5 separate regions of the Homo sapiens genome follow, and all the other regions are linked to region 1. The links are contacts of gene promoters, found by promoter capture Hi-C in blood cells and fetal thymus (Javierre and others, 2016). All regions are on one chromosome and are shown on one strand. The core of a region is centred on a gene start or on the middle of the fragment in contact, and the rest is flanking DNA. Distances in the headings are between cores, read along the strand shown. Region 1 holds the start of NFATC1 (nuclear factor of activated T cells 1). Region 2 overlaps KCNG2 (potassium voltage-gated channel modifier subfamily G member 2). Region 3 overlaps KCNG2 (potassium voltage-gated channel modifier subfamily G member 2). Region 4 overlaps CTDP1 (CTD phosphatase subunit 1). Region 5 overlaps CTDP1-DT (CTDP1 divergent transcript).

Region 1 (5,053 bases), core at 1,851-4,350:
TCTTTCTCAGCTCCAACCATGGCTGTGAGGTTCATTCACACTGACTTAAAAAAAAAAATCTCAGTTTACTTAAAAGTAAATAGCTTTTTCTATAATTCTGGTTTGCTAATTTAATCCTAGTCTCCAGACCCTGGCTAAATAAATGCCCATTTCTCCAGATGGTCTCAAGAGTCTCTGGACATCGTGGGGGCCCTTCCCTGTTGGTTGGAAGGTGCCTCAGGAAGAAGGGGGTGGATTCTGAGTTGAGTCAAAACCTCAAAGACCCCTGATGGGAAAAGCTCTCAAGTGACCACCGCTGTGGGCCAGAATGCAAAACTGCAGGAACAGAACATTCGCAGGAACAGAACACAGTCGTATTAAGTGATTTTCCCGAGCAGGAAGTGGCATCTGGCCTGCGGTTCAGTAGGGGGAGGAAAGGGTGGGCGCACCTGCCCCTGGCTGGCGCACCTGCCAGGTAGCCCCACGCGGCACCGCGTGTGCCGAGCGCCCCTGAGGATGGAAAGCCCCACGCGGGGCAGGTGGCACCCACCCTCCGAAGACGGGACGGGATGGAGCGTTGAGCTTCGGGGCAGCTCCGGCCCGGCCCGCGCTGGAGACGCCCGCATCTGCCAGGATGGCGTCTCATAGCCCTGGTGCTCACACATGACGCCAGGAAGCCCCAGCAACAGTGACCGCCCAGGCTCTAGAAAATATTGGACGGGGTGGATGAACACCCAAGTGCGCTCCAGGAGAAGGGATTTGGCACCCCAAGGGGCTTTTAAAACGGTAAGCTTCTAGGGGTGTCTTTGCCCCCAATAATCCATAGAAACAACAGTCATCTAAAAATAGTCTTGTTTTCTGTCCTAAGCTCCTTTTAACTTTGTTAGTCATCACCAATCCTAAAATAAAACCCGTGTAACGTCTCCCCTAGTAGCGGCTATAAACAAACCTACGAGGAGGCAGGAGGAAGAGGAAAGGGGCGCAGGGCGCTCGGGGAGCAGAGCCGGGGGCCCGCGGTGGCCGCAGAGGCCGGGCCGGGGCGCAGAGGCCGGGCGAGCTGGCCGCGCTCTGGGCCGCCGCCTCCGGAACTCCCTGCGCCTGGCGCGCGGCCACCGTGGTCCCGGCAACGGCATTAAACAGAGGGAAACAGACCCGGGATTCCGTCACCCGGGCGGGGGGATAAGGACGGCTTTGAGAGCAGACAGGAAAAGGGAGCTTTTCTGCATGGGGTGAAAAAATTATTTATTGAAGGAGGAGGAGGCGGCAGCGGAGGAAGGGGAGGGGCGGGAGGAGGAGGAAGAGCCGGCCGCCCCCGCCCCGGCCCCGGCTCCTCAGGAGCCAAGGGCAGCCTCGCCAGGTCGGTCCCGGGCTCGAGGACCGCGGCTGGGGTCGAGGGGCTCAGTCTCCCACGTGACCGGCTGGGCGCGCCCCGCCAGACCCGGCCTCGGGATTCCCTCCTCCCGGCGAGTCTCCGCCCGCCCCGTCCTGGAGGTGGGGAGAAGGAGGGCGGGGCGGGGGGGACGGAAACTCTCCCCGCCAAATCCTGGCCCCAGGCCTGGGGACACTCGCGGCGGGAAGATTTGGAGGGGAGGGGAGGGGGAGGGGCGTGGGGGCGCGGCCTCGCTGGAGTCCCCCTGACCCCCCGACCCCCGCCCACCGGCCTGGGCGTCCTCCCGCGGCCCCTCCTCCCCTCCCGGCGCCCGGTGCTCTGGGGCGCGTGCCACGCCTGGCTCGGCGCCGTAGGGGCCCCCGCAGGTAGAGACCCCTGGAAATGGCCTCGACGCCGCAGGAGCGAGGCGGCCACCACCCCGCTAATCCGGGCACGTCTCTCCAGGCCGAGGCCTGCGGTGGAAAAGCCGGGGTTCCATTTGTGCTGAGTCGGGGCGGCCGAATGGAGCCAGGCCTCGGGACGCGGGACGGACGGGCTCTGGCCGCGCACCTTCGCGGGCTCTGCAGCGCCCGACCGCCTCCCCCGGCAGGGAGGAGGCGCTTGTGGGGGGCACCCACGGGGCACAGTGATCCCTGGGGGTCTGCGGACCTCCTGGGCCCCGCAGCAGACACGAGTTTAGCCTTTGGGTTTAGTTTAAATCACATAAGGGTGTCGTGCAATCGATTTATGGTTTCTACACACCAGACACTTTAACCTCCAACCCCCCCCATCCAAAGCCAACAAGAAAATGCGGTGCCGTGTTGGCAGCTGAGCTGCGCCCGAAGAGACGCAGGGAGACGTAAGAGAGGAAAGTGTGAGTGGCCGGGGGGCCTCCCCCCGTCAGAAGTCGCGCAGTCGCGCCCATAAAACGCCCCCTCCGGGCGGCTAGGGCAGGTGAGCGCGTCCCCGGGCCTCCCCACGCCGGCCCCTGCCACAGGCCGTCTAGGTCGAGCAGATATTTACAGAATAAAAATGACAATAACTCGACGTCCCGGGACGGCCACGCAATCTGTTAGTAATTTAGCGGGATGGGAATTTCCTTTCTAGGGCCTGCCAGTGAAGCGCTTTTCCAAATTTCCACAGCGGGGGAAGCCTGCGATTTTACATAATGACTTCAGCATGCCGGGCTTTCTCGACACCCCTCCCCGGCCCCCGGCCCCCGCCCCCCGCCCCTTTTCCAGCAGGGCCGGGCTCCCTCCGGACACCCGCGTGGACTCAGGCGTCCCGTCTGGCCCGTTCGCCCCCGTTTCCCCCGCCAGCCCCAGCGCCCCCCTGCCCGGCCCCCGGATTCCCCGTTCCCGCCCCTACGCCCCCATCCCCTCCCCGTGCGCCCCTCCCCGTGCGCCCCCCTCCCCGTGCGCCCCCCCTCCCCGTGCGCCCCCCTCCCCGTGCGCCCCCCCTCCCCGGGCGCCCCCCTCCCCGGGCGCCCCCCCTCCCCGTGCGCCCCCCCCTCCCCGTGCGCCCCCCCTCCCCGTGCGCGCCCCGCCTCTTGCGCCCCTGCCCCCAGGCGAGCGGCTGCCGCGGCGCGGGGAGGGGCGGGCGCTCGGCGACTCGTCCCCGGGGCCCCGCGCGGGCCCGGGCAGCAGGGGCGTGATGTCACGGCAGGGAGGGGGCGCGGGAGCCGCCGGGCCGGCGGGGAGGCGGGGGAGGTGTTTTCCAGCTTTAAAAAGGCAGGAGGCAGAGCGCGGCCCTGCGTCAGAGCGAGACTCAGAGGCTCCGAACTCGCCGGCGGAGTCGCCGCGCCAGATCCCAGCAGCAGGGCGCGGGCACCGGGGCGCGGGCAGGGCTCGGAGCCACCGCGCAGGTCCTAGGGCCGCGGCCGGGCCCCGCCACGCGCGCACACGCCCCTCGATGACTTTCCTCCGGGGCGCGCGGCGCTGAGCCCGGGGCGAGGGCTGTCTTCCCGGAGACCCGACCCCGGCAGCGCGGGGCGGCCGCTTCTCCTGTGCCTCCGCCCGCCGCTCCACTCCCCGCCGCCGCCGCGCGGATGCCAAGCACCAGCTTTCCAGTCCCTTCCAAGTTTCCACTTGGCCCTGCGGCTGCGGTCTTCGGGAGAGGAGAAACTTTGGGGCCCGCGCCGCGCGCCGGCGGCACCATGAAGTCAGCGGAGGAAGGTAAGCCCCGCGCGGCCTCCGCCCCCGGACCCCTGCGCCCCCCACGGCCCGGGCCGCGCCCCCCGACCCCGCCCCCGTCGCCCGCACGGAGGGGTCCGGGCCAGAGAACGAGGTCGGCCGGGTCTGTGCGCCCAGGGAGGGGCGCGGCGCGGACCGGGAACGGCGTCCCCCAGCTCCCAGCAGCCCGGTTCCGAGCGCGCCTTCTGCCAATAGGTGTCTCCTCTGCCCCAGCGCTGAGGGCGCGAGGCGAGGCCGCCGCGGGTCCCGCCGAGGAAGCGGCTCGCAGGCCGGCGATTTGGGGACGGGCGAGGCTGGGCCGTCAGGACCACAGAGGGCACGTGGGAGGGAGGAAGGGAGGCTTCCTTGGGAGTGAAGGATGCCCCGTGTCTTCCTGAGCGAGGCAGAGCCACCCTCTGGCGCCAAGATCGCGGTTTGGGGGTTCTGCGCCCCCCACCCCCACCCCGAGCTCGTGGCGGCGTCTCCCTCGCGCCGCGCCCCTGAATTCCCCAGGGCCGAGCCCGTCACGCCGGCTCCTGGACCTGCAGGACCAAAAGATCCAAAGCGCGGCCGCAGCACAGCCCCGAATTTAAGCCATTTTGAAATCCTATAGGCAGGAGTTCCAGCCAGAGAAGATGTTTCAGGCAAGTTTGAAAAGGAACCGCCAAGTTTCGAGCTGCTTCTTTATAGTGAAAAAAAGATGGCACAGTGTGGGTCCCTGAAACCCGGTGTGGGGGGCGCTGAGACCCCCCTGCGGCGCATCTCACATTCCAGTCCCCCACCTTAGCCCGTCCCCGGCACACACCCCTGGCGATGCCGGGTGGGCTCCTGCAAGTGGCTTTGAAAATACCCTTGCAGAGGTGTGAGCATACGAGTTAGGGATTAGGGATTGCAATGCTAATGGAAATTGGAAGACGCTTTTCCAAATTCCTTACCAGCTCTGAAATATTTTATATAATTTATTTAAAGAGCGCCAGCACACCTGCCAACATATGTACTTCATAAGGGCAGACGTCCTTCCGAGCGCTGCCGCTTCCTGCGCGACCCTGATAACTGCGGGGCTTGCTTGAGAACCGGGCTCCCCCAGCTCTGGAAAACTCGCTGGTCTTAGCAGAGCTGAGCACAGGGCCGTGAGCTCCACGGAGGGGGGTCCGTGTGGTCGGTGCCCTGACGCTTCACGGGACGGGAGGTAGACACCACTTCATCCCAATGTTAGAAAATGTTGACATGTTTAAACCATGTCCCGTGTCAGTGTTTTACACAATGTGCTCTTGCTAGTAGCAGAGTTTAAAAAATTTTTTTTTGTTGGAGTTTCGGTTTTAAATCCTGGGACACTTACGCCGCAGTGTTCATTATCACTCCCTTTAGAAAGGCAGGTCTTTCCAAGTTCAGATCTCTGTACCTGAAGAGCCGGTGGCCGACCTGTAGTAAGGAGCCCCTTTCTTTTACGCAAGGAAAAAACACGACGGGGCAGTGGCTAGTTTTCGTGTTTCCTACTGAAGAAAATAAGCTCGAAAAGGTCCCTGCTGCAAGG
Region 2 (5,053 bases), core at 1,382-3,881, 460 kb after region 1:
AATACCTGTGGCAATTCAAGATGCTTATTTTTGCTCTTATGAATGAAATTGAGCATTTTTTCATATGTTGGAAGCCTTTTCCCCCTTTGATGTGAACTTTATGTCAGTTGGCCCATTTTTTCTATTGAGCTGTGCGTTGTCTTTCTTTTTCTGACGTTTTGCAGAGAATGGGGAGGAACTCCAGAGCTTTCAGAAGTAACTTTGTAATCTCCTAAATCAAGTAATTAGCTTTAGAACATTTCTAATGTAGCATATAACTTACGTCCATATTTTAAAATGTATGTTCTGGGAGGAAGAAAGCCTTTTACAGCAAAAGTTCCAGGTTATACCTGATTATCCACTTATTTTAATAATTATTCATCCCTGCCTACAAAAAAATGGAGCATGCAATGGATTTGGCTACAAGGGAAGTCAACCTGTCCTGCAAGCCTGGTGTGTGTGCTCGCGGGGACTGGAGGGGTGGGGCGTCAGAGCCACGATGCTCCGCAGTAATAACGCAGGTGACTCTCTGTCCCTTAGGGTGAAACTGGATGTTCATTTTCCAGGTCGAAGCCGCTGGTCTCAGCTGTGTTTTCACCGGTTCCCTGAAAGAGAATACCCTGTACCTTCACAGAGCCAGGTAAACCCAGAACCTGCCAGAAGGGCAAGAAACCTCAAGTCGTACTGGGATTATCATTTTCCATTTCAGAGAGAGGGTCTTCTTGGTGGGTTCTTGTGCCTTCTGCTGATGGTAAAGCTGAGACTCTGGTGACTGTTGACACACACCTGTCAAAGGCATGCCTCACAGGCAGCCCAGAACTCAGGCGCAGCCCCTTCCGAACCCCGCCTGGGACTGCAGAGGACAGGGGAGCTCACGGGGCCGTCTGCCACGCCACAAAGGGCTCCAGCAGCTGGGTTTGCACGCTAGGCTTCTTCGACAAACTGGGACAGCTGCTGCTTATTCCGGGCAGTTTCTGAGGCAGCACGTTCAGACGACTTCCTGCTGCATTAGGAAGCTCCGTCTTGTGAGCCCTGGGGAGGCCGGCAGGTTGGAACCTTCAGAGCCTTTAATCCCCCAGAGCGCTTGACTTGTAGGGCTCGGGAAATCTCCGCAGCAGGTTTCCATGACCTAAGCAGCTGATTGCTTTTGAATAAAATCAGATGCCCTGCTCCAGCCCTTCTGCTGGGCCAGCCCTCCGTCCCAGAGGAGCTCTCCTGCTTTGTGGACCTCTCTGCCTGCCCCCCACAGCCGCCCCCACAGCCGCCCCCACAGCCCTGTGTGGTATTGGATGAATCGGACTTGTCTGTGTTCCTCAGATCTATGCTTCAGGCCATGTCCTTGGCATGGGGTGTCTGGCACAGAGGTTTGGATCACATGTTCACTGAGTGAACCTTGGGGCACAGAGGCACACATAACCATTTGAATCCTGACCACGTCCCCCCTCTTCTCATGCAGCGAACTTGGCGCTGAAGGTCACAGCACACGTGGTCCCGGTGATTATGGAGCGCTTCTCTCCTGGCCTCCATTGCAGTAGTCATCCAAGGAGCTTTCTCCCATTCAGAAGCGACTTATGCAATTCTTCACTGGGGTGCTGAGCTCTTACTGGCAAGCTAACTAATGCCATTTTGTTAGACTGTCTTTCCCTCACTCCTTCCTTTTCATTTGACTTTTTCCCCCTAAAATCTCTAATGAATCACACGCTTGGGTCGAGTGGGCAGTCTGCGAGCTACACTGAGCAAACCCACCACGCCCCCTCTTCTCTGGTTCCTGACTTGCCGTAGTGGTGGGTTTAAGCTTTACTTGGCAGAGGTCCTAGAATACAGTTGTCAGCAACAACCAGAAAAAGGGCTTGACGTTGGCGGTGGAAGGCAGCGGCTCTCAAGCCTCAGTGATGAGGCTTGCGTGTTACTGGATCCCCCCGAGACCTACTCACTCAGAATGATTTTTATAAATGGAGATAAAATTCACCTAACGTTATATTTACCATTTTTATGTGCACGATTCTGTGGTTTTTAGTGTATTAACAATGCTGTGCAACCATCACCACTATCTAATTCCAGGACTTTTCATCGTCCCAAAAGAAACTCTGAGCCATTAGCAGTCACTCCCCATCGCCCCTCTTCCCATCCTCTGGAACCCCCTTGCCGGCTTTCTGTCTCTGTGAATTTACTTATCATGGATATTTTATTTTATTTATTTTATTTTTTGAGACAGTCTCGCTCTGTCTCCCAGGCTGGAGCGCAGTGGCGTGATCTTGTCTCACTGCAACCTCTGACTCCCGGGTTCAAGTGATTCTCCTGCCTCAGCCTCCCGAGTAGCTGGGACTACAGGCGCCCGCCACTGCACCCAGCTAAGTTTTGTATTTTTTGGTAGAGACAGGGTTTCGCCATGTTGACCAAGCTGGTCTCAAACTCCTGACCTCAAGTGATCCACCCGCCTCAGCCTCCCAAAATGCTGGGATTACAGGCGTGAGCCACCGTGCCCAGCTCGGACATTTTATATAAACGGATTCCCAGTATATGTGACCTTTTCTGCCTGGCTTCTTTCTCTTAGCATAGGTTTTATCCACACTGTGGCATTAGCAGCACTTGGTTCCTGTTTGTGGCTGCATAACATTCCTGTATGGAGGCCCATATTTTGCTTCTCCGTTTATCAGTTGATGGAATTTGGGTTGTTTTCAGTTTTTGGCTATTCTAGTAATGCCACTGTGAACATTTATGTACAAGTTTTTGTGTGAACACATGTTTTCATTTGTCTTGAGTGTACATCTCGGAGTGGGGTCACCGGGTCACATGAGAACTCCATGTTTAAATTTTTGAGGAACTGCCAGACTGTTTTCCACTGTGGCTGTGACATTTTATATTCCCACCAGCAATGTACAGGGGTCCAATTTTTCCACATCCTTTCCAACACTTGTTGGGTTTTTTTTTTCCATTTGTTTGACTATAACGACCCTAGTGGATGTGAAGTGGTATCTTGTAGTTTTAATTTACGTTTCCATAATGACTAATGATATTGATCACCTTTCATGTGCTTATTAGCCATTCACATACTTCCTCGGGAGAAATATCTATTCAGATCCTCTGCCCATGTTTAAATTGGGTTGTTTGTCATTTGTTGTTGAGCTCCAAGAGTTCCTAACATCCTGGATACTGGACTCTTATCAGATACGGGACTTGCAGCTCTTTTTTTTTCCACCGTTACTTGTCATTCATTTTCCTGGTCCTGTTCTTTGATATACAAGAGTTTCATTGGAATGAAGTCCAATTTATCTTTTTTTCTTTTGTTGCTTGTGCTTTTGGCATTCTGTTTCAGAAACCAATGTCTCATCCATGGTCATGAAGATGTACAGTCTGTTTTCTTCTACGTGTGTTTTGGAGTTTTAGCTCTTACATTAAGGTCTTTGATCTAGTTTGAATTAGTTTTTATATATAGTGTGATGTAGGCATCTTGGTCCATTCAGTGTTGCTATAAAGGAATACCTGGAGCCAGGTAATTCATTTTAAAAAGAAGCTTGTGATGTCATCATGATTCTGATGTCTGGAAAAGTTCAAGATCAGGCATCTGCATCTGAGGAAGGCCACAGGCAGCTCCAGTCATGGCAGAAGATGGCGTGGAGCTGGTGTGTGCAGAGACCACACGGAGATGGAGGAAGCAAGGGCTAGGGGTGCCAGGCGGGTTCAACAGCCAACTCTGGAGTGAACTCATAGAGCGAGAACTCACTCATTACCATGAAGACACCTCCCAGCCATGCATGAGGGATCAGCCCCCATGACCCAAACCCCTCCCATTAGGCCCCACCTCCGACACTGGGTATCAAATTCCAATATAAGATTTGGAGGCCAATATCCAAACGATAGCAGGGTCCAACTTTATTTTTTTACATGTGGATAACCGTTTGTTGGAGACACTATTACTTCTCCATTGAATAGTCTTGACGACCTTGTCAAAAGTGAACTGACGGTAGATTTATGGGTTCATTTCTGGACTTTCAATTCTGCTCCATTGATTTTTATGTCTCTCTTTACACTAGTACTACACTCTTGATTGCTGTAGCTTTATACTCACTTTGAGTAAGTAGTAATGTACTAGTCCATGTTCGCATTCCTATAAAGGAATACCTGAGACTGGGTAATTTATAAAGAAAAGAGGTTTAATTCGCTCATGGTTCTTCAGGCTGTAAAGGAGGCACGGTGCCAATGTCTGCTAAGCTTCTGGGGAGGCTTTGGGAAGCTTCCAGTTATGGCAGAAAGCAAAGGGGGAGCAGGCACGTTACATGGTGAAAGCAAGAACAAGGTTGCGGGGTAGGTACCACACACTTTTAAACGAACAGATCTCATTTCGACACAAGATTTAGGTGGAGGCATGTAATAAAATGATATCAAGTAAGTTTGAGCCCTCCAACTTTGTCCTTTGTCAAGTTTGTTTTGGCTACCTTGCATTTCCAATAGAATTTTCAACTTGTCAATAGAATGTTCAACTTGTCAATGTCTTCAAAAAAGTTACTGGGATTTTCATATGGATTGGATTGACTCTGTTGATCAATTTAGGGAAGATTGCCATCTTAACAATATTAAGTCTTCCAATACATGAGCATGGAATGTCTTTTCATTTATTTAGTCTTAAAATTTCTTCCACCAATGTTTGTAGTTTTCAGTTTTCAGTGTAGGTTTCAGTTTCCACTCCTTGGTTAAATTTATTTCTAAGTATTTTATTCTTTCTGATGCTCTTATAAATGGAATTTTTTTAACTTCCTTTTCCGATTATTCATTGCTTTTGTATAGAAATACAACTGATTTTTTTTACCGATCTCATGTCTTGCAACTTTGCTGAACCCATTCTCATAGTGATGTGTGTGTGTGTGTGTGCGCATGTGTATGTGTATGTGTGCGTGTGTGTTCTTTAAGGTTTTCTGTACATAAGATCATAAGATCAAGTCATCTCAAAATATAGTTTTACTTTTTTCTTTTGAGTGTGGATGCCTTTTATTTCTTTCTCTTGCCTAATTTTTCTGACTATAATTTCCAGTTCAATGTTAAGTAGAACTGATGAGAGCAGGTATTTCAGTCTTGT
Region 3 (5,053 bases), core at 916-3,415, 430 kb after region 1:
GCGCCAAGTCTCCTGTCCAGGAGCATGGCTCGCTTTCCATTTGTTCATGTTTACTTTCGTGTTTTAAATTTGTTCTTGTAAAAACAGTACACATTCCTTGTGAAATTTGTTCCTACATGTTTTTTTCCTACTGTAAATGGACTTTTTCTTTCATCAATTTAATTTAATTTTTGAGACAAGATCTCACTCTGTCACCCAGGCTGGAGTGCAGTGGCACGATCTTGGCTCACTGCAGCCTCCGCCCCCCAGGCTCAGATGATCCTCCCACCTCTCAGCCTCCCAAGTAGCTGGGACTACAGGCATCACCACATGTGGGTAACTTGTATTTTTTGTAGAGACAGGGTTTCGCCATTTTGCCCAAACTGATCTTGAACTCCTGGACTCAAGCGATCCCCCGACCTTGGCCTCCCAAAGTGTGGGATTACAGGCGTGAGCCTCGGTGCTTGGCCATAAATGGACTTTTCCAATGATTGTGTTCTTTGTTGTTTGTGTATAGGAAGGCTGTTGATTTTATAGCCTGCTACTTTTCTGAATTTTTTTATTCAATAAATAAGTTTTGTCATTGATTCTCTGGGATTTCCAAGTATAAGATGATCCTATCTGCAAAGAGAGACGGTTTCACCCCTTCTTTACCTGCTCTATGCTTCTGATTGATTTTTGCTGTCTAGTTTTATTCATTAATACCTCTCGTATAATGTTAAATATATCAGAGGTAGTGGGTATCCTTGTTTCTGATTGCCATGGAAATGCCTCTAGTGTTTCTCCATTAAGAGAGCGGCTTTAGAACTTAACACAGGCTGCCGGTGCTGGTGAAATACCCATCAACGCCCTGAGTATTCATCAAAGGCTGCTTGGTATCTATGGAGATGATTACATGACTTTTCTACCTAAATTTATTATTATGGTGCATGATGTTAATGGATTTCCTACCACTGAACCTACTTTGCACCTTCTGGAACAAATTCTACTTTGTCGCAGTATTTTTTTTTCTTAAGAGGCATTGAATTCTGTTTAATAATATTCCGTTTAGAATTTCTGCATTGGTATTGATGAGTGATATTGAACTTAAGTTTTCTTTCTTCTTATTATATTTGGTTTAAATATCAGTGTTTGCTTACTTCATAAAATGAACTAGAGAGCTTTCCTTCCTTCTCAATGTTCTGAAATAATTTGTAGAGCATGGAGACTATCTAGGCTTTATAATCTTGGGAGAATTCTCTGTAAACCTGTCGGGGCTTAGTGCTTTGATAGGACAGTCAGTAGTAACTTTCTGTTTCTTCAATGGAAATGGGTCTGCTGAAGTTTCTAACTCTCCTGGGACAGTTTTTGGTGTCTCTGTTTCCCGAGAACATCTGCACTTCCTCTGGGTTTTCAAATGTGTTTGCAAAGAGGACTGCACAGTGTCTCCTCTGATTGTTCAGTCTGTTTCAAACGTTACATTTCTTGAATATAATAATGTGGCTTTAAAAAAGAAAAAGGAAGACACTTGAAGAATGGGAAAATATCCCTAAGTCATCCTACAGCTATAAGCCTTGTTTTCAAAGCAGCACATCACAGACTCGTGTTTACCGTCAGTTTACGAAGAATGCGCTGATGTCTGGGTCCATAAAAATATCTTTCCTGTCCTTTTCTGCTGTTTGCTGACGAAATGCCTCTTCATAAAAAATAGCTTTAACGCCTGAGAGTTACAGAAGCTCCCCTCAGCGAGGAGTCTCAGAAACCACGGAGGTTTTACCAAGTCCCTGTCGGTGAACATCAACTTGACTGACGGGGCGCAAGCTTCAGGAGATGAAGTGTCAATAAGGATTAATACGAAGGTAGATCAATCACGCTGTCATTTCATAGGGCTTCAGTTTCTTTCTGTAAAAACCCGTCAGATGTGATTTTCCCTCTAAAATTAGAATCGTTTTTATTCCTTTTTCCAGTTACTAAAATTACCTGTATCGTCTGGGGGAAAATACAGAAGGACAGAAAAAAGAAAGTAAAAATCACCTGACCTGACCGTGCACTGTCAGCCTGTCTGTGGCCTTCCTTCCGGAAGTTTCTTTATGCGTCTGCCCATGGACGGCAGGTGGGAGCGCGGACACCTGTCGCCCTCTCGGCCGCTCTGGGACCTGCCCTTTCTTTGAAACGCTGTGTCCAGGGCATGACCCCCATAGAGACGTGGGCCTGGGTGGAGGCTGCAGCTTAAGAGGAAGCTCTCGGCGTCGGGGCCTGTGCCCTGCCGGCCGCCCTGACCTTGGAGGAAGCGGGCGCTGACACACTGTGGGCGACAGGAAGGGCCGGGAGCTCTGTGGCCGTTGGCAAGGCCAGGAACCCGGGTAGTCGAGCTGAAACTGTGATCTGAGGCGCGAGGCCTCCGTGGGAGAAGGGTCGCTTCAGACGGGGACCGAGGGCCTGGCTCTGGGAAGGTGGGTCCTGCTCCCTTCTGAGGCAGGCAGAGCTGCAGGGAAAGCAGGTGTGTGGAGGCCCCTCCAGAGCCAGGCTCCAGGCGCTTCAGGTACGGCGCCCGTTCTGCTCCCTTCCCAGGCCTGCCCAGCTGCCCACCGCACGAAGCTTCACAACTGAGCGAGCAGCTCCTCACGGAAGGTTAGATTCGGCGCGTTACGTCATTACGTTCAGTGAAAGAACTGAGTGAGCAGCTCCTCACGGAAGGTTAGATTCGGCGCGTTACGTCATTACGTTCAGTGAAAGAACTGAGTGAGCAGCTCCTCACGGAAGGTTAAGTTCGGCGCGTTACGTCATTACGTTCAGTGAAAACTGAGTGAGCAGCTCCTCACGGAAGATTACATTCGGCGCGTTACGTCATTACATCCAGTGAAAGAACTGAGTGAGCAGCTCCTCACGGAAGGTTAGTTCGGCGCGTTACGTCATTACATCCAGTGAAAGAACTGAGTGAGCAGCTCCTCACGGAAGGTTAGTTCGGCGCGTTACGTCATTACGTTCAGTGAAAGAACTGAGTGAGCAGCTCCTCACGGAAGGTTAGTTCGGCGCGTTACGTCATTACGTTCAGTGAAAGAAGGTGTGGGAGTGACTAATCACTTGTTTGATAAAATTGATTGAAAAAGAAATTACCAACTAAAAATTATAATTATTAAAATGTAAAAGTTTAATTACAGTTTCTAGGAAATTCGCCTTGGCTTCTGCCCGCTTTCTGTTCAGGACGCTGAGCTTTGCTGCTTGGTGCCTTGTGAGGACGTGGCGTCCCCGGCGATGCAGGGGCCGGGCCGCGCCAGCCTCTGTTGCTCCTCTATGGGGTGGTGACAGCCTCAGGCCTCCCTGGGGACAGGCTGGGGACTCCCAGATACTGAAGCTTAGCAGGTGCGCCCCCACATGGTCATGGAGCTGGGGCTCGGGCCAGACCAGCGACACCCTCCAGGCCTCAGTGGTCCTGTGTCCACCCCGGAGCCCCCAGGGCAGGAGATGTGGGTGGGATCCCTGCAGGAAACCGTGAGGGTTTCAAACTAAGCCTCCTTTCGTTTTCCCTGGCGGTGTCAGCATCGTGCCTCTAAAGAGTTCTGTTCCTTGGTCAGAGTTCCAGGTGAGATGCTATCTTAGGTAGGAGAGGTCATCTGGCCCCAGCCAGGGTTTCGGCCCCACCAGTGGGGCAGGGCCTGGGGACTGGTAGTTTAGCACAGCGGCTCTCAAACTTGTGGTGCTGGGAATTTTTAGGACCTCCAGCAGCCTGTGTTCCTGGAGGAAGGAGGGTGTGGCAGAGGCCCTGGAGTCCCAGTGTCTGAGAGGCCAGCAGAGGAGGGGCTCAGGATGGAGCGGGAAGCGCGGGGAGAAGAGCGGGGACTCAGCCTCCCCCCTGGATTTCGCTTCTTCTGAATGCAGGCCCTGGAACCCCGCTTATTACCCGCCCACCCAGTGCCGCAGCTCTGGAAATGCAGCTTGGTGGGCTGGACCCAAGTCTCTCCATGTGGCTCCATAGGAAAAATACTGATGCAAGTAACTACTTCAGAGACAAAAACAGTTTTAACAATGTACCAATTATAATCCTTTTACCTATATGTTTAAACAGAATTAGCAGTTAGAATTATACTGGAACATAATATTCTTTTTTCTTTCTTTCTTTCTTTTTTTTTTTTTTGAGATGTAGTCTCCCTCTGTTGCCCAGGCTGGAGTGCAGTGGCGTTGTCAAGGCTCACTGCAACCTCTGCCTCCCTGGTTCAAGTGATTCTTGTGCCTCAGCCTCCCAAGTAGCTCGGATTACAGGCACGCACCAACACACCCGGCTAATTCTTTGTATCTTTTGTAGAGATGGTGTTTCACCATGTTGGCCAGTCTGGTCTTGAACTCCTGACCCCAGGTGATCCGCCCACCTCGGCCTCCCAAAGTACTGGGATTACAGGCATGAGCCACTGCACCCAACATAATATTCTTAAAACTCTTAGACATACAGACATGTAGGAATACTTAAAGACATGACATGCGTGCGTGTGCATGTGCATATGTGTGCACACTGCGTCATTGCATGTCTGCCTGTGTCAGTGTGTGCATGAGTCTGTGTGTGCAGGTGTGTGTGTGTCTTAGTGTGCATGTGTCTGCATGTATCAGTGTGTGCATGTTTGGGTGCATCTGTGTGCAAGTGTGTGGTGTGTGTGCAAATGTGTGTCTGTGTGTGCATGAATGTGTGCATATGTGTCTACATGAGTCTGTGTAGTGTAACGTGTTTATGCATGTCTGTGTGTGCATCTGTGTGTCTATCTGTGTGCATGTCTGTGTGCATGTGTCTGCATGTGGGTGTGTGGATGTGTGTAACGTGTCTATGATGTGTTCATGTGTCTGTGTGTATGTCTGTGTGTGCCTGTGTGTGCATGTCTATGTGTGCGTGTGTCCGTCTACAGGAATTTGCGTGTGTGTAACATGTCCATGATGTGTGCATGTGTCTGTGTGTGGGTGTCTATGTGTGCGTGTGTGTAACGTGTCTGTGTGTGCATGTGTCTGTGTGTGGGTGTCTATGTGTGCGTGTGTGTAACATGTCCATGATGTGTGCATGTGTCTGTGTGTGGGTGTCTATGTGTGCGTGTATGTAACATGTCCATGATGT
Region 4 (5,053 bases), core at 1,295-3,794, 300 kb after region 1:
TTGTCAATTTCTACAAAAAAACACCTGTTTATTGGTTAAACTAGAGCCACCCCAGATCCTTCTTCATGTTAACATGTTTAGGAGAGATTGGCAAAATCCTCCTAGTTCATATTTGAGGATTCCTTTCCCTCTCTTCCCCTTGCAGGGGGTAGAGCAAGGAGGAGCCCGCGGTGAGCTGGTGTCTTGCATGGGGCAGGGGGTAGAGCGAGGAGCCCGCCGTGAGCTGGTGTCCTGCGTGGGGCAGAGGGTAGAGCAAGGAACCCGCCGTGAGCTGGTGTCCTGTGTGGGGCAGGGGGTAGAATGAGGAGCCTGCCATGAGCTGGTGTCCTGTGTGGGGCAGGAGCTGTGCAGAGTTTCCTTGCAGAAGGCTGATTGCAAAATGATGTCAGCTGGAGACCAGGGAAGCCTGTTAGAGGGGCTGGGGCTCCCAAGTGGGGTTGCTGCCAGGACTGGGGGAGCAGTGCCCAGGGAAAGGACGTGGGGCCATTGGGAGGACTGGGTTTGGGTGTTGGCGGTGGGGCCGCAGAGCCCTGTGGATGGACGAAAACAGCTCAGCCGGGGAGTTGGGGGCTGCCAGGCATCGGAGAGGAGCCTGGATGTGGAGGCCCCGAGTGCGATGGCGGTAGGGACACAGACTCCTGGGCGGGGATGGCCCCTGTGGCCTCAGCAAGCAGGGAGCAGGTGTCCCTGAGGCCTGTGAAGCCTGGCAGTGTCTTTGAGCAGGTGTGGTGACCGGGAGGGAGGATGGTCCAGTGTGGGGTTTGTGCGTTTTTTTTGTTTTTGTTTTTGTTTTTTTTCAGAGATTGGGTTTTTAGGTTAAGTCTCTGCTCATTGGGGCATTTTAGGGCAGAACTCTAATCATTCATTGTAAAGTATTTTGATAAAATTAAGGAAATCATACTTGTCACCTTAGAAAGTTTAACACACTTTTTCAAACAAGGTGTCACTATTTTGTTGTCTGGTTTAAGAAAAAAACCTGATACAGGTTGAGTCTCCCATATCCAAACTGCTTGGAAACAGAAGTGTTTTGGATTTCTGGGTTTTTTTGGATTTTGGAATATTTGCACGTATACATGACGAGATGTCTTGGGGATGGGACGTGAGTAAACGCGGAATCCATTTGTGTTGCACATGCACTGTGTACGCACAGGCCCAGGACCCGGAGGAGCTCAGATTCTTGATAGTCACCGGCAGCCCACTCCATCCCCGAGGGCTCGGAGCCCCGCACCGTGTGTCCTCAGCACCGTTCCTCCTCCAGGGTGATCCGCACACGCCCATCCTCCTCCCCAGGAAGAACTCCCCTCCACTCCCCTCCAGGCTACAGACCCGCCCCTCCCATTCTCCCTGCAGGATGCTGGCTACAGACCCGCCCCTCCGAGTCTCCCTGAAGGATGCAGGCTACAGACCCGCCCCTCCGCTCCCCTGCAGGATGCAGGCTGCAGACCCGCCCCTCCCAGTCTCCCAGCACAGCCTGCCATGGCACAGTGGGCATGGAGGATGTGGCTCCGCCTTGTTTCCGCCTGTGGCCTGATCCTTGCGCCCTCTCGATGACATGGCTGGGGGTCTTGGTGGGCCATGGGGCATCCCGCCTGGAAAGGTCCCATTGACAGATGCAGCTTGGGTGGCTGTCTCATGTCCGCGGGTCAGGGTGGTCGGAGCAGCCCGGCTGGGACGGGAGTGTGGGGGCTGTGAGCACCTAGGGGCGGGTGCTGAGTGCTGGGCGGCCTCATGTCTGCAGGGCAGGGTGGTCGGAGCAGCCCGGCTGGGATGGGAGTGTGGGGGCTACAGGCACCTAGGGGTGGGCGCTGAGTGCTGGGCGGTCTCATGTCCACGGGGTGGGGTGGTCGGAGCAGCCCAGCTGGGACGGGAGTGTGGGGGTTGCGAGCTCCTAGGGACACTGAGTGCCGGGCAGCCTCGTGTCCGCGGGGCGCGGTGGTCGGAGCAGCCCGGCTGGGATGGGAGTGTGGGGGCTACAGGCACCTAGGGGTGGGCGCTGAGTGCTGGGCGGTCTCATGTCCACGGGGTGGGGTGGTCGGAGCAGCCCGGCTGGGGTGGGAGTGTGGGGGCTGCGGACACCTAGGGTCAGGCGCTGAGTGCTGGGTGGTCTCATGTTCGCAGGGTGGGGCGGTCGGAGCAGCCCGGCTGGGGTGGGAGTGTGGGGGCTGAGGGCACCTAGGGGCGGGCGCTGAGTGCCAGGCGGCCTCTGGTCTCATAGCCTTCAGATTTCAGCACTTCTTCCATGGCTTCTGCCAGAAGACCACTGTTTGGACAAATAAAACAGTTTGTGTTTATATAAAACGAACATTACAGTCATTTTGTCAGGAAAATGTAGTTGCATCAGCCTCTGTCTAGACTGGGAATGATATGAAAGTTTTAGATTTTATAAATTCTCTAACGGAAATGTCAGAGGATCACATATAAATAGTGTGTTTTGAGACAACTTTATGTTATCCCCAAGTCTCCTCTTTGGACCAGACATCCTTAGTTTTTTCAGCTGTTCCACGGGTGGCACGGGGGTGGTGAGGTGTGGTGGCGTGTCATTTTTCATGAGAGACACCTGTAGGTGGAAAGTCCTTTCATTTTATAGACAAAGAAATGCCCTCAAGGGGTGATGTCACCTGCCTACAAAGTTATGCAAGGGTTAGTGTAGAATTGGTACAAAAACCTAGATTTTAAAATTCTTACTTGGGGGCTCTTTTGATAAACCAAGAGATTTTAAAGTGTTGTTCCCCTTGTGTTTTTTTGTAGAGCGGTTCTGGTGAGGTTGGAAGGATGCAGCCACCCGGTTGTCATGAAAGGCCTGTGTGCTGAATGTGGCCAAGACCTCACCCAGTAAGTATCCGGAAGAGTGAGATCGCTGCCTGCTGGGGCTCGAGGTGGTGGCCTCCGGGGAGTCCGAGAAGCTGTGCTGGGAACACAGTGAGGCCCTTGGTTTCCCAGCGGCAGATGCAGACGCCTCCCTTGGGCCCCATACGAGTCACACTCAATGGGTTTCCCTGGAGGCAGTCCTTCCTGCTCTGTGACCCCAGCCTCATGCCATTCTCAGGTGTGGTGGGGGGGCATGCTGGAGGGCCGAGACCTGTTTTCTCCTGACTGAAGACGCAGATCGCTGAGTGCCTGGAGCAGCCCCTCCCTCTGGGCCGCTGAGCGCCCCATGCTGGGGGCTGCTTTACCTCTAATGCCAAGTGGGAGGTGCGGCAGCTACTTTTTCTGCGTTTTCATGGTTGAGGGCCTGTTTCTGCTTCTGTGTGACTTTGCAGTTTGTTTTCATGAAGGACTATGGCTCTGTGTGTTCATGAGTGTGGCCACGAGCTCAGTGTTTCCACCAGTTTTCCTGTCTGTGGAGAATGTTTCCACGTTTGCCGACAGAATCAAGTCTGTGCTAAGATAGCAGCGTGTGTCCGTTAAAACATCAGCTAGAATCCTGTCACTTAGAGCCCAGTGTGCATCTGTGCGCAGAGACTCAGCTGAAAGCCCTGAACCTGTCCTTGCACTTGCAGGTTGCAGAGTAAGAACGGGAAGCAGCAGGTGCCGCTGTCCACGGCGACCGTGTCCATGGTGCACAGCGTGCCGGAGTTGATGGTGAGCTCCGAGGTGAGCCGGGCATCAGTGGCGGCGTGTTGGGGAAGCGTGGTGCTCTGAGGAGGGCGGCTGCAGGAGGAGGGTGGCTGCAGAAGCACGGACGTGTGGTTGTCATCGTCGTTACTGAAACAACCCCTCATCACACGGATGACTTATGGGACTGCGGCCTTCCTGAAGCAGGGACGGTTGCCCTTGGTTCTCCACAGACAAGTCTGCCTGCAAAAGCGACTCAGGGCCCCGAGGCTGTGTGACCTGCGTGTCGGGAACACCAGGTGCTGCCGCCGCAGCTGTGAACAGCCAGGCTCAGCCTGGGTTCCCTTGAGCCAAGTCCTAACTGGGGAGGGATGTGACAGCTGCTCATGGAGCTCAGGAGGTGGCCGCGCTGCCGAGGCATGTGCTGGATGACCCGGGAGGGCAAAGCGCATATTGGGGCAGATAATGGCGAGGAGTCGGTGGCCGGGGGTAGGGGCGGGGGGACGTGGTTGGTAGCACCTTGTTGGCTACAGGAGCGGCTGCTGCTGGCACCATTGGGAAGCTGGCTCGGGAGAGTGGGCACATGCAGGGGCGGGTTGGGGGTCCCAGGAGTGTTTGCCTTGTAGCCGACAGGAGAGCCCATGGGGGGTACGCAGGGTGGAGAGGACGGGCAGGTGTTCACGTGCCCAGTTAAGAGTGAGATGGGTTTTTATCTTCGAGTGCTACGCCTCGTTTATGTATTTCAGGAGTTGCTGGGGCACTGTGGGTCAGCGGCTCCGGGCACCTCCTGTGCTTGAGGCAGACACCGTCTCCCCGACCTCGCTTCACCCCGTGGGTGAAAATGCTCTGGGAGCTGAGAAAAACTAGTTTGTGATCTTACAGACTTTCAGGGCTGCACAGTTTTGTAAATAGGTAAAACACTTTCCAGTGTTACGATTTTAGTAAATTCGTGCTTTTAAATGATGGACACCAATTTCAGTCTATCTTTTTATGGGAAAAGCAAAATGCCAGATACAGGATTCTGGGTTTTCTGAATTACCAAACTTTAAACAAATGTAAAATGTGTATGCGTAAACCAAAGCTGGCAAGTTTGAGGGTGAAGGGAGGAGGAAGTACCCCCCATCTTTCTGGCACCTGCCAGCCCTTCCGTGCGTTTCCCTTCGGGGATGGGCACGGGAGGAGGTCCCCCCTGAGCGGGACCAGGATTTTGTTGTGAAGAGTGAGGGCCAGTTACAGTGAGAAAGGCAGCGTGGTGCGTCACATCCCGTGTCCCATGCCGGGCTCCTGATGCCGGGGTGACCGGGCCCTTGTTAGGAGCTCCACTCTGGGCCCCGCGTGGAGGGACACCCCGATGCGCTGTTGCCAGGCCCCCGGGTCTCTTCGAGGCACAAGAATAGGCTGAGCGTGGAAGGTTCTGAGCGCGGGAGATTCTGAGCGCATTGCCCTTACCAGTCTCTGCTGCCCAGCTTGGGCCACCCAGCGTCTCCCAGCCGGCCGA
Region 5 (5,053 bases), core at 1,203-3,702, 260 kb after region 1:
TCTTAACAAAATGAAAGAGAAAAACCATATGGTCATCTCAACAGAGGCAGACAACCATTTGATATTATTCTAAAACAGTCATAAAAATCTTTTAGAAGACTAGGGATGAACTGAAGTTTCTTTAACCTGAGAAAAGACAGGCCAGAAAAACCCTTAGCATAAATCTTTCCTGATGGAGAAATGTCGGAAACTTTCCCTTTACCATCTGGAATAAGACAAGGAGACCCACTATAACTGATTCTGTTAATCACTGCACTATGGGGCTAAACTACCCACAGCAATGCAAGAAAAGAAAGAAAAGCTACAAAACTTGGAAGGGAAGCATAAAACAATCATCATTCATAAATGATATGTGTTTTTACCATGGAAACTGCAAATAATCTACCGATATACTATTAGAAATAAAAGATCTTAGTAAGGTGAGTGCGTGGCGCCAGTTCATGAAAATCCACTGCAGTTCTGTAAGCCAGCAGCAATCAGCCGGAAAACGGCAGTTTTTAAAAAGCTATCGTGTGCAATAGCAACAGAAAATAAAGTAACCAGGAATAAATACAAAACAAAAATGAGCAAGTGCTATACGGAGAAAATCATAAAACCTTATTGGAGGACTTTGAAATGGACCTAAGCAAGTGAAATGGTAGACCAAGTTGACAGATGGGAAAATTCAAATCACAAAACTGCCAGTTCTCCTCAGAGCGACTTAGATTCCACACAGCCCTGTTAAGGCCCTAACAGGTTTTATCAATAAACTTGACACATTAATTCTACAAGTTATGAAACAACAAATACCAAGAACAGCCACAAAACTTCTGAAGAAACTTCTAAAGAATCGTGGGGCCCTGGCCCTCCCAGATGTCATGACTTACGGAGCTCTAGCAATTCCAACAGCGCAGTAGAAGCCAGAATAGAAAATCTGGCCTGGCCGGTGCGTGGCTCACGCCTGTCATCCCAGCACTGTGGGAGGCCAAGGTGGGCGGATCACCTGAGGTCAGGAGTTCGAGACCAGCCTGGCCAACATGGTGAAACCCCGTCTCTACTAAAAAATACAAAAAAATTAGCCAGGCTTGGTGGCACATGCCTGTAGTCCCAGCTACTCGGGAGGCTGAGGCAGGAGAATCACTTGAATGAGGGAGGCAGAGGTTGCAGTGAACTGAGATCACGCCACTGCACTCCAGCCTGGGCAACAAAGCAAGACCCTGTCTCAAAAAAAAAAAAAAAAAAAAAACAGAGACTGGTATATATCAGAGATGACATCACAGATCAAAGAGAACAGAAGTTTTTCAATATATAGTGCTGGGACAATTGGTTATTCATATGGAAAATGAATTGGATTCCTGCCTTACATCATATATGAAACATCCATTTCTTATTAAGTAAATGGTTAGCTGTGAAGGGCAAATTTCATACATTTTAAAAGTATAAAAGGAAGATATCTTTAAAATCCTCATGTTAGGGAAGGCATTCTTAAAATTAACAGCTTCTGTTCATCAAAGTGTCTCAGAAAGAAAATGAAAAAGACAAACACAAAATTGGTAGACAACATGAGTAACATATAAACAATAAAATACTTTCCTTCAGAAGCCACAGGGAACTACTACAAATCAGTAATAAAAAGACAAACACCCCAACAGAAAAATGAGCAACAAACATGAACAGGCATTTCACAGGAAAAAAAACTCAAATGGCAGATAAAAAATAGAAAAATAAGCTAAACCATATGGTCATTAGGAGACTGACAATCAGAACTACAAGTTTTCATTTTAACACAGGTTTTTACTTGGCATGGCAGAGACCAAGTTGGATAACATAGACTTGTTGAGGATGTGGATGGAAAGTAACTCCTTTGTTGCTGGTGGGATTATAAATTAAAACAACCATTTCAAAAAATTGGTTGTCACTTCATTCATCTGAACATTTGCACACTCTATGATTCTGCAGTCCCCTCCACACACACACCCTCCTCCACACGCACACCCTCCGGAGGCTTTAACTCAGGTGCACCAAGAATCATACAGAATGTTCGCTGCAGTACTTCCCATGAAAGCAACTAAATGTCCATGTATAAAGACTCAGGAACACATTCTGTTACACCAAATGTCCATGTATAAAGATGGCATGAACACGTTCTGTTACAGCCACGTAATAGGATATTATACAGCAATCCCAATCAACAAACCACAGCCAAACAAAATCATTTAGAGGAAGATGCAGATACACAATGATTAGTGCAACAACCATCACTGAAGAATATATATGATGCTATTTTTATAAACCTCAGAAACAAGCCAAACTAAACAATATCTTTGTATGTGTATATATATATATATCTTTGTATATGTGTGTGTGTGTATATATATATCTTTGTATGTGTGTGTGTATATATATATATATATATATATATACTCATGCAATAAAACACCATAGAAAAGGAACATGATCAACACCAGGTTGAGGCTGGTGGATCTGCTGGTGGGGAAGCAAAGGGCAGAGTGGGATGGGGAGCTCTCCAGCGGTTGTTGTGATGTTGGTGACACCCTGGATTTCAGGTCAGCTGATGGGCTCATTGTAGGGTTAGGCTTCATAGCTCACCCAATATGTTACACACAGTCTGCTCTGTACTGTATGGGGAGCCTGGAAGCTGGAAACCCTGGAGAAAAGTGGCCACACTCAGCACCTGGCCAGGCCTGAGGACCCGGGGCTGTGAAAGAAGCTAGGCCAGGGAGGCTGTGAGGGATGGCAGGATGGAGATGGCGGCCAAGGAAACAGAGGCGGGGGTCAGAGAACACGGGGGTTCCACACTCCTCCTTGAGAGGTCTGAGTCCAGGAGGGCTTTGTGATACTGAGAAAAAGGAGGCGAGGTAAATGACAATGGCAGTCCTCTGACTCCGGACCGCGTTGTTCAGTTGGCCTGATCCCAAGTGAAACAGCATTGCCGTCCACCGTGCCCTTGGTCCACAGAAGAGCGGCAGGTGTAGCTGCTCCGTGGGCCAGTGGGAGGGTGGGATGTCTGCGTGGGGATGACCAGACAGGGCCGCCCTGGTCTCAGCTGCAGAGCCTCCTGGCCCAGACCTCGCCCTGCACAGAGAAGGCCGGCAAGACTGCACTCCCTGCTGCTCTGTCCACAAAAGGTTGGCAGGGAACTCCCGCTGAGACAGAAGAGACCTGCTTTTGTTTTGCCCCAGCCTGCAGTGGCTCCAAGTTATGCCAAAATGAAACCACGTCAGTCACAGAGAGCCCACAGGTCGGCGCCAGCAGCTTCTTTCACTCGTGAAAGCAGCAAGGCCAGCAGAGGTGATACCCTGGGAGGATTGAGTCTTCCTTCCAGCAGGACACTTTAACACCCTGGGCCTAATGCACCGATTCTTACCCGGTGCTTTTCACTGGCGTCCTTGCCATTTTCCCCCAGCAACGTGCATCCCAGCTGCATCTCAGGAGAGACGGAGGAAGGTCCGGGCTCACGCGCATCCCAGCTGCGGCCCAGGTGAGGTGGAGGAAGGCCCTGCTCATGTTGCCCTCACCACTACCTGCTGAGGGAGCGAGTTTCTGGGAGTGATATCTTGAGCCTCTTCTGCTTGATCTCCTGGGAGGGCTCATCCGTTCAGGTCCACAGGACATTTTAAAGAGCTCCCTGTGCGATCGTGAGGTATATTGAAGTTTAAGAACCACTACTTCAGGAGGTTTGTGCTATTATAAGGCCAATATTCTGCTCTATTTTATGTTCTATAAATGTGAATTTTATACTTTGGATTTTCTAAAAGAAGGACATGTGTTCTTATGTTGTTTATCAATATACTAAAAATATTAGAATAAAAACAACACGTGGAAATGGCTGCTTTAAATGTCTAAGATGCTCACCCCAACAAACTGGCAACGGCTACTGCTGCAGTTCCAAACCACGGCAATAAAGTGAGTATCACAATAAAGCAAGTCACATGCATCATTCTGGTTTCCTGGTGCTTTATAAAATTATGTTTACACTATACTGTAGTCTTATTAACTGTGAAATACCATTATGTCTTAAAAAATGCACATGCCTTAATTGAAAACTAATTTATTGCTAAAAAATGACGACCGTCTGCCCCTTCAGTGAGTCCAAATCTCTTGCTGCTGGAGGGTCTTACCTCAGTGCTGACAGCTGCTGACTGATCAGGGTGGTGGCAGCTGACGGCTGGGGTGGCTGTGGCAATTTTTAAAAATAGGACAGCAGCGAACTTTATCGTGTTGATCAACTCTTGCTTTCACGAGAGTGTGATGCCGATGGACAGCGTTTTACCCACAGCAGAGCTTTGTTCAGAATCAGTTAATCTGCTCACACCCTGCCGCTGCTTTATCAACTCGTTTACGGAATATTCTAAATTCTTTGTTTCATTTCAACAATCTTCACCGTGTCTTCATCAGGAGCAGATTTCATCTCAAGAAACCACTTTCTTTGCTCGTCCAGAAGCAGCAGCCCCTCGTCCGTCCAAGTTTCATCCTGAGATTGCAGCAGTTCAGTCCCATCTTCAGGCCCCGTCTAATCGTCTAATTCTAGTTCTCTTGCTATTTCCACCACGTCTGAAGTTATTTCCCCCACTAAAGCCTCAAACTCCCCAAAGTTATCCCTGAGGGCTGGAATCAACTTCTTCTAAACCCCTGTTAATGTTGATATTTTGACGTCCTCCCATAAATCATGAATGTTCCTAATGGCATGTAAAATGATGAATTCCTTTCAGAAGGTTTTCAATTGACTTTGCCTAGATTCATCAGAGGAATAAACTATAGCCTTAGAAAACGTATTTCTGAAATAATAAGACTTGAAAGTCAGAATCATTCTGGATCCTTGGGCTGCGGGGTGGATGTGGTGTCAGCAGCATGAAAACAACATTCCTCTCCTGTACGTCTCCATCAGAGCTCTTGGGTGACCATGAGCAGGAATTTTTCTGAAAAGAATCTCTCTTTCTGAGCAACAGGTCTCAAGAGTGGACTTAGAACATGCGGTAAGCCATGCTGTGGACAGAGGTGCTGTCATCCAGGCTTCGTTGTTCCGCGGATGGAGCACAGGCAGAGGAGATTT

What was found. Contacts are between HindIII fragments. The CHiCAGO score rates a contact against its expected background, and 5 or more counts as called.
Region 2: a fragment that was not itself captured here is called in contact with the fragment with the promoter of NFATC1 in region 1 in 1 of 17 cell types (monocytes); the score reaches 6.0 in monocytes.
Region 3: a fragment that was not itself captured here is called in contact with the fragment with the promoter of NFATC1 in region 1 in 1 of 17 cell types (monocytes); the score reaches 5.0 in monocytes.
Region 4: a contact is called between a fragment that was not itself captured here and the fragment with the promoter of NFATC1 in region 1, in 4 of 17 cell types (fetal thymus, total CD4 T cells, total CD8 T cells and 1 more). The highest score is 5.4, in fetal thymus.
Region 5: a fragment that was not itself captured here is called in contact with the fragment with the promoter of NFATC1 in region 1 in 16 of 17 cell types (total CD4 T cells, M1 macrophages, non-activated CD4 T cells and 13 more); the score reaches 12.3 in total CD4 T cells.

What each region holds. Positions count from the first base shown.
Region 1 is chr18:79,392,830-79,397,882 of GRCh38, forward strand. NFATC1 (nuclear factor of activated T cells 1) reads left to right here and starts at 3,101. Exons shown (of 10, transcript NM_001278669.2): 1 at 3,101-3,522. The coding sequence starts at 3,396. RefSeq lists enhancers at 1-502, 503-1,027, 1,732-1,851, 3,493-4,040 and silencers at 1,222-1,511, 2,937-3,336, 3,697-3,796. The HindIII fragment of the contact is 8,960 bases long and covers 769-5,053 here.
Region 2 is chr18:79,855,834-79,860,886 of GRCh38, forward strand. KCNG2 (potassium voltage-gated channel modifier subfamily G member 2) reads left to right here. Exons shown (of 4, transcript NM_012283.2): 2 at 546-619. Among named protein-coding and RNA genes, the nearest start is that of KCNG2, 60 kb to the left of the region's middle. RefSeq lists a silencer at 876-1,170 and enhancers at 876-1,170, 952-1,081. The HindIII fragment of the contact is 1,719 bases long and covers 1,773-3,491 here.
Region 3 is chr18:79,823,849-79,828,901 of GRCh38, forward strand. The region is part of intron 1 of KCNG2 (potassium voltage-gated channel modifier subfamily G member 2); the gene reads left to right. Among named protein-coding and RNA genes, the nearest start is that of KCNG2, 28 kb to the left of the region's middle. RefSeq lists an enhancer at 2,127-3,326. The HindIII fragment of the contact is 777 bases long and covers 1,778-2,554 here.
Region 4 is chr18:79,692,477-79,697,529 of GRCh38, forward strand. CTDP1 (CTD phosphatase subunit 1) reads left to right here. Exons shown (of 13, transcript NM_004715.5): 2 at 2,749-2,832; 3 at 3,501-3,594. Among named protein-coding and RNA genes, the nearest start is that of CTDP1, 15 kb to the left of the region's middle. The HindIII fragment of the contact is 7,815 bases long and covers 1-5,053 here.
Region 5 is chr18:79,654,365-79,659,417 of GRCh38, forward strand. All of the region lies in intron 2 of CTDP1-DT (CTDP1 divergent transcript), which reads right to left. Among named protein-coding and RNA genes, the nearest start is that of CTDP1-DT, 23 kb to the right of the region's middle. RefSeq lists enhancers at 2,619-3,154, 3,155-3,690. The HindIII fragment of the contact is 5,390 bases long and covers 1-5,053 here.